2 separate regions of the Homo sapiens genome follow, and region 1 is linked to region 2. Evidence: promoter capture Hi-C in human tissues and cell types (Jung and others, 2019). All regions are on one chromosome and are shown on one strand. Each heading gives the region's core, a stretch centred on a gene start or on the middle of the fragment in contact. The rest is flanking DNA. Distances are from core to core; before and after follow the strand shown. Region 1 overlaps LINC01801 (long intergenic non-protein coding RNA 1801). Region 2 holds the start of ZNF599 (zinc finger protein 599).

The links. The method cuts DNA at HindIII sites, captures the fragments that hold promoters and counts their contacts. A contact is called where the count stands out against the background at its distance.
Region 1: a contact is called between a fragment that was not itself captured here and the fragment with the promoter of ZNF599 in region 2, in 1 of the 25 tissues and cell types used here (thymus).

What each region holds. Positions count from the first base shown.
Region 1 is chr19:34,820,108-34,823,805 of GRCh38, reverse strand. The region is part of intron 4 of LINC01801 (long intergenic non-protein coding RNA 1801); the gene reads left to right. Among named protein-coding and RNA genes, the nearest start is that of LINC01801, 11 kb to the left of the region's middle. The HindIII fragment of the contact is 4,964 bases long and covers 1-3,698 here.
Region 2 is chr19:34,771,721-34,775,666 of GRCh38, reverse strand. ZNF599 (zinc finger protein 599) reads left to right here and starts at 2,452. Exons shown (of 4, transcript NM_001007248.3): 1 at 2,452-2,843. The coding sequence starts at 2,826. LOC124904696 (a long non-coding RNA gene) reads right to left here and starts at 2,320. Exons shown (of 2, transcript XR_007067234.1): 1 at 1,973-2,320; 2 at 978-1,400. RefSeq lists an enhancer at 2,522-2,631 and a silencer at 2,742-2,801. The HindIII fragment of the contact is 7,437 bases long and covers 244-3,946 here.

The DNA.
Region 1 (3,698 bases), core at 1,104-3,603, 48 kb before region 2:
TGGAGGAGCTAATGTAAATGGTATTATAGGTATTATGTGTTTTTAACTTGAAATTCCAATTATTCATTTCTACTACATAAGAAAACACTTGTCTTTTGTGTATTAATCTTGTATCCTGCAACCTTACTATAATCACTTATTAGTTGTTAGAGGTCATTTGTTGTTGTTATTGATTCTTAGGGGTTTTCTATATAGACAATTATGTATCTGCCAAAAATGACAGTTTTATTTCTCCTTCCCAGTCTGTATATATTTTCCGTCCTTTGCTTATCTTGCTTCATTACCATGTTGAGTAGAAGTCCTTGCCTTGTTCCCAGTATTAGAAGAAAAGCACCTAGTTTATCACCGTTAAATATAATGTAGGTTTTTTTGGTAGATGTTTTATCAAGTTGAGAATATTCTACTCTTAATTCTTAGTTTGCTGAAAGCTTTTTATCACAAATAGGTGTTGGATTTTTCTCCAATGCTTTTTCTGCATCTATTGATATGATTATATACTTTTTTTCTTTAGCCTGTTGATATGATAGATTGCATTAATTGATTTTCAAATGTTGAATCAGACTTGCATACCTGGAATAAATTCCACTTGGTCATAATGTATAATTCTTTTTATACATTTTTTGTTTTGATTTGTTAATATTTTATTGAGGCTTTTTCCATTTATATTCATGAAAGATATTGATCTGTAGTTTTCCTTTCTGCAATGGATTTGTCTGATTTTGGTACTAGGATAATGCTGTTCTCATAGAATGAGTTAGGAAGTTTTTCCTCTGCCTCGGTTTTCTAGAGCTGCTTGTAAAGAACTTAATTTCTTTCTCAAATATTTAGAATTCACCAGTAAAAGCACCAGGGCCTAGTGCTTTCTGTTTTGGAAGGTTATTGATTGTTGATTCAATTACTTTGATAGATACAGGCTTATTTCTATTCTCTATCCTTTTGGCAGACTGTGTCTTTCAAGGAATTGGCCATTTAATCTACGTTATCAAATTTGTGGCATTCTAATATTTTTGTTATGCTTTTAATATCTGTGACTCAATAGTGATACTCCTTTTTGTGTCTTCTCTACCTTTTCTTGGTTATTTTATTTAGACATTTATCAGTTTTATTGATATTTTCAGAGTCAATTTTGGTTTTATTGATTTTTTTCTATCGTTTTCCTGTTTTCGATTTCACTGATTTCTGCTCTAATTATTTTTCATTTCACTTACTTTGGACCTAAATTGCTCTTCTTTTTGTAGTTTCCTAAGGTAAGGGTTGAGATTGATTTTAGATTTCTTCTGTTCTAATATATGCATCCATTTCTATAAATTTCCTTCTAAGAACTATATGCTCTGTGTGCCACAAATTTTGCTAAGTTGAGTTTTCACTTTAATTTCATTCAAAATATTTTTTAAATTTTTCTTGAGATTTCTTTGACTCATATGCTACTTCTCTTTTGAGTTTTATCAGCCTTGTTTCATATAATGTGAAGCTCTAGTACTGGGTGCAAAAACATTTAGCATTGTTATGACCTATTGTTGAATTAATCCTTTTATCATTATCAAATAACTCTTTTTATTCCTTATCACATTCTTTGTCTGAAATCTACTCCATTTGATATAACTATTCCAGATTTCTTTACATTGGTGTTATTCCATCCTTATCCTTTCAGTTATATTCGTTTTTGTGTTTCAAGTCTTTTTTGTTTGTTTGTTTTGTTTTGTTTTGTTTTGTTTTTGCTTTTGTTTTGAGACGGAGTCTTGCTCTGTCGCCCAGGTTGGAGAGCAGTGGTGCGATCTCGGCTCATGCAAGCTCCGCCTCCCAGGTTCACGCCATTCTGCTGCCTCAGCCTCCCAAGTAGCTGGGACTACAGTCACCCACCACCATGCCCAGCTAACTTTTTGTATTTTTAGTAGAGACGGGGTTTCACCGTGTTAGCCAGGATGGTCTCTATCTCCTGGCCTCATGATCCGCCCGCCTCGGCCTCCCAAAGTGCTGGGATTACAGGCATGAGCCACTGCTCCCAGCCTCAAGTGTTTTTTTTATACATAGCATATAGTTTTGTATTTTTAATCCAATCTAACAATCTCTGCCTTTAAAATCATACATTTAGACAATTAAATTTAATATGGTTAGATGTCGTTGTGTTTACACTGACAATTTTGCTGTTGCTTCCTGTTTGTTCCATCTGGTCTTTGTTTCTTTTTCCTCTTTGTATACCTTCTTTTGGATTATTTTCATGATTCCATTTTATCTCTTTTGTTTACCTACTAAATATAATTCTTAAGTGTTTTTAAAGTGATTCTTTATATTATATAGGATATACTACATACTATAGTATAAACTATATAGAGTAACATATATAGTCTACCTCCAAGTAATATTATATTGTTTCACATATAGTATAAGAACTATACAATAAGAACAGTACACTTCCATTTCTCTCTTATCATTTGTGCCATTGTGCCATACATTTTACTTTTACAGAAAGTGTTTGACATGCACACACAAACACCCCCATACAAACACATATGTATGTATATGCATATATTTTTATATTTACTTTTTCCATTGCTACTCATTCGCTTGTGTAGATCCAGATTTCTAACTTGCACTATTTTTATCTTGCCCGGACTTCCTTTAGTTTTTTTTTTTTAATGAAAGGTATGCTAGCGATAAGCATTTACGTGTATAAAAAGGTTGAGTTGTGTGTGTGTGTGTGTGTACCTTCACTTTTAAAAGAGTTTCACTGGGTGTAGTTTTAGCACCTGTGTCTCCACATTCTGGCAGGTTCACAGGGTATAGGTTCACAGTATTTTTTTCTTTCGAGTTTTAAAAAATGCTAACTCATTGAGTTCTAGCTTGTGTATTTCCAATGAGAGGTGTGCCATATTCTGTTTCGGGGGAACTTTTGAAAATAATATATTCAAGTTTTGTTCATTCGTCTGTAGCTACATCTTACTTTTTCTTTGTTTCTCATTAGAACAATGCATGTGTTCTACTGGAACACATAATGTGTGCTTTTTCTTGGGATGTCTTTTGATTTTCTCCTAGAGACTAAGCAGTTTGATTATGATGTACCTGGATTTAGTTTTTTTCATGTTTTTTGTTATCTGATATCTTAAATTCATCATTTGTGTGATGGTTTGAGGTAGGGGTAATTTCCATATGCACAACCAATGAACTCAACCACATGTATTTAGGAGTCTGTTATCCTCCCATGTCCTCCCTCCCTATTTTCCCCTTCTAGGAATTCTCCCTCGGCCATCTTTTTTCACACGCCCAGTGACCGAGTATACCTTGATGAGGCCAAAACCTTTTCTAAACTCAAATAGCAAGTCTATGGATTCCTTCTTCCTTTTCCACACATACTCCTGCCATTCAGGCCAACAGAAAATGCTTCAAAATATCTACAAATTTTACTTCTCATCACCTGCACCACCACCACTGTGTCCAAGCTTTCATGATTATGACCATAGCCACCTAAATGGTCTCTCATCCCCAGAAACCAGAATGATCCTATTAAGCCTCAGTCAGATCACGTCATCCTTTGCTCCAAACCCTCCATGATTTCCATCTGTGAGTAAAAGGCAATGTTCTTATCACATCCTCCAAGGCCCCACTTAGTCTCTTCATCCCTCTCCATCTCTATTCCCCCTTCTTCCCACTCTGCAAAGTGCCAACTTCATCCTGGTCCCCTATTGAGTTGCTCACTGCTC
Region 2 (3,946 bases), core at 1,203-3,702:
CATGAGATATAATTCACTTACCATATAAATCACACGTTCAAAATACATAATTCAGTGGTTTTAACATATTTAAATATATGTGCAACTATCCCCCACAGTTATTCTTAAAACATTTCATCACTTCACAAAGAAACTCCATATCCCTTAGATATCAATCGGCTGTCCCACCACTACCCACCATCCCTAAGCAATCACTAATCTACCTTCAACCTCTATAGAGTTGCCTATCCTGCACACTTCATATACATGGAATTATATACTGTGTGGTTATTTTGTAGCTGATTTTTTCACTTACATGTTTTCAGTGTTCCTCCATGCTGTATTGTATATCAGCACTGCAGTCTTTTCTTATGGCTGAATAATCTGTTATAAGGATATATCACATTTTGTTTATCCATTCATAAGTTGGTAAATGTGTTAGGTTGTTCTTGCTTTGCTGTAAAGGAAAACCTGAGACTGGGTAATTTACGAAGGAATACCCCAGACTGGGTAATTTACAAAGAAAAGAGGTTTACTTGGCTCACAGTTCTGCAGGCTGTACAGGAAGCATAGCACTAGCATCTGCTCAATTTCTGGTGAGGCCTCAGGAAGCTTCCAATCATGGTGCAAGGCAAAGGGGGAGCCAGTGTAGCACATGGTGAGAGCAGGAGCAAGAGAGAGTGAGGGGAAGATGCCACACACTTTTAAACAGTCAGATCTTGAGAAAACTCATTATCTCAAGAATAGCACCAAGGGGATGGCATCAAATCATTCATGAGAAATCTACCCTCACGATCCAGTCACCTCCCAACAGGCCCCATAATATTATATGGTTTGGCTGCATCCCCACCCAAAATCTGGACTAGATGCATAACATATCACCCTGAGATCTTAACATTCAGATGAGGTCAGAGACTGCATGCAGATTTTGGCTTCTCGCATTAAGAAGCATGTGAGAGTGTAGAATGTATAGGATAAATAATAGAATGGAAATCTGATGACTAAATTAATAGATTTTACTAGAAAATGGCCAAGGACTTATCAGTCCCATTATCTCTTTCTGGATGCTCTGGAGGACAGCACATCCTGGCTTCTCTTACATGTGGAGCTATTTGAGTGGTTTGTAGGCCATGGAATATAGGCAGAAGTGATTGCAAAATTGTGTCTTCATTATGTTTTCTTATTTCTGCTCCATCCTGGGGATGCCTCTTTGGATGTAATGCTTTTACTTTTCACAGTGTCCAGGATTATTGCCCTCTTCATGTGGGCTACAGGTTTGGGTGGTGGGCTGAAAGTGTCTTGATGAGACAAGATCTGGTGACCCTGAGTTGCTGGGCATAAGCTGGGCCATCTGGTTTGTGCCTGGTTCTGGCTTCCCTGGGGGCTGGAGGGGCAGATGGGGAGGGGTCAGATCCTGGTTGCTGTGAATTAGAGATGAACAGTGACACGCCATCTTACATCACAAACTAGAAACCATGTCAACTCCACTCTTCCCTTAGGGCTGCAGGTAATTAGTCTCAGTGATCCTAAGTTTTGAATCATGTAAGAAAGTATCCCTTGGGCAATAGGTCTACCTGTATATTAGGAAACCCTCCTGCATATACCGTTTTAAAAAGATGCATACGCCAAATGCTGCAACGTATTATTATGTAAAATTTAAACAGTATTCATGAGGCTCCTGTTGAATCAGTCAACGTATTTGTTTTGACAAATATCAGAGTCTGCAAAGAAGTATCTCAGACCCTCCCCTAGCAGTGTATTGTGATGATGTTGCCAATAATACAGAATATTAATAATGACAGCAATAGCTCTTATGTTCTTATCGGTATGTTCCAGGCCCAGTGCTAAGCAATTCTTAGTTACTTCCCACCAAACAGGTGGCTTTGTCTCATTTATTTACTGGAATTTAAAGAGTCTGGTTCTCAAATGTTTTGCAGCATCCACTTTTCCTGGACAAGTTAAGCAGAGGGCTGGGTCCCACCCCCCAGAGTACCTGATTCAGTGGGTGGGGACTAAGAACTTGCATTGGTAACAAATTCGCAGGTAATGCTGATGTCATCTGAAAATTACTGATAGGGGAAATTTTAATATTATCATATTAAATAATTATCTTCATTTTCCTTAGGAATCTCCATCTCAAGGCTCAGAGAGATGAACTGCTGGCGCAGGGATACACAGGGAGGAAAGTCAAGGCGTGAGTTGCCTGGTAGAGACATTTGAGAGTGGGTCATTGCCTCAGATAATTTCCACGGAACTCTGTGTGCCTCTCCTTTAAGAAGAGGTGAAGCCAATCCCTTTCTTGGGAGCCTTGAGAAGCCGCCTCACCGAGAACAGAAAGTGCGCTCCAGGTACCACCCGGATTCCGTCAAACTACATTACCCAGAAGGCAGTGCTACAAGGGACGGAAGCCGACCCCAAGCCATAGACGGAAGGCGCAGAGGGGCGTTCCCGTAGCGGCGTGGGCGGGACTTCCGGCGTCCAGTCTTCGTCCGCCGTTAGGTTGCGGCTGCTGTGGTTGCCAACGCTACACTGGGTAGAACGCCAGACAGGGGCCACTTTTCGAGACCGAGTAGAGACGGACAGTGAGGAGGATAGGACCCACTTACACGCTTTTATGTCAGCCGCGATCCCACCCCCACAAGCGTCTGCAAAACCCTTCCTGGGGCCTTGGCGACAGCCCTGTGTCCTCACGGCGCGCAGAGGCGGCGCCGCGAACCTTGTGTGCATTTTACACGACGGCGGGGACTGAGGTCCCTCGCAGCCCAGAGCCGGAGCCCGGGGTCGGCCGAGCCCGCAGGACCGGCTTCCTCGCCGACTCTCACGGCCTCACCCAGCCCCCTGGGCCCATGGCGGCGCCGGCGTTGGTGAGTGGAGGGTTCCGCAGCCCGCGCGAGCTCGGGTCACCGCCCGCATGCACCCATCCGCTGTAATACGGCGGATGCCGGGACTCTGTGCTTCTCCCTTTTGATGCCCTAGGTTATGGAGATCCCGGGAGAGGGTGAGGTGAGAGGGCAGGGCTAATCACTTCCTACCCAGGGTCCTGAATCCAGGACAGGAGTTGTAAGGAGAGGTCCCTGTCTCTGGCTCTAACCTGGAGCTGTCGCCTCGCTGCCCTCGGCCTCCATTCCCTCGGGTCTAAAATGCGAGTCTCAGTAATTTTCTCTGTGGAGGGAGCTGGAGAGGGTACGCTTGTGACGTGGGTCCTGTCTTTCACTGCTCGGAGAGCATCACTCTAGGTGCCGTCTTTGAAGAAGGACTCTCTAGGTCCTGCTGTTGTTTTAGGGGATCATTCCAGCGGAAGTCTGGCCCTACCAAAAGCTGGGAGAGGGAATGAGAGCCTCGAGGGCAAGAGGTGAGGCGGGAGCAGCATTTTTGGCAGGAGGCTAGAAGACAAGAAGCTCATTGGATTTATCTTTGCAGATGCCGTCTGTTTATTACAAATGAATCTGGCTTGCCGCCTAACAGCAGTGAATCCGTGCTTCTGTTTAACACATGCTCTTGTATTTGAAAAGCAAATCCAGCACAATATTCATTAATGACAGTGTACATGAATGTATGTCTCTTGGAGTGTGAGCACATAAGGCCCCAAGTTACTCTCCAGCATGTCACACTGTTTACTCCTCGTAGCTCTGATCACCTTCAGGAGTTGTCTATTCATTTTTCCTCACCTGGTCTGTTCTCTAACTTCAATCTAACCTTGTTCCAGGGTCTCTTCAGAGAGAGCTTCCCTGGTTGCATCATGTAAAGTCTCTCCCAGTCTTTGTGGTCTTCTCACTCTTGTGTTGTTTTCTAGAGTCTTCTGACTTTATCTTGATTGTTTATTGCTGAGGATCTGTCCCCCAACCCCAGAATGTCAGCTTCTGTTCTGTTTTTCATCCCCAGGCCCAAAACTATTCTGTTCTGGGCCTGTACCACTTAGTCGATAAGTGATTAATGAATGAGATTCTATCCTCTGGGGCTCCCATCC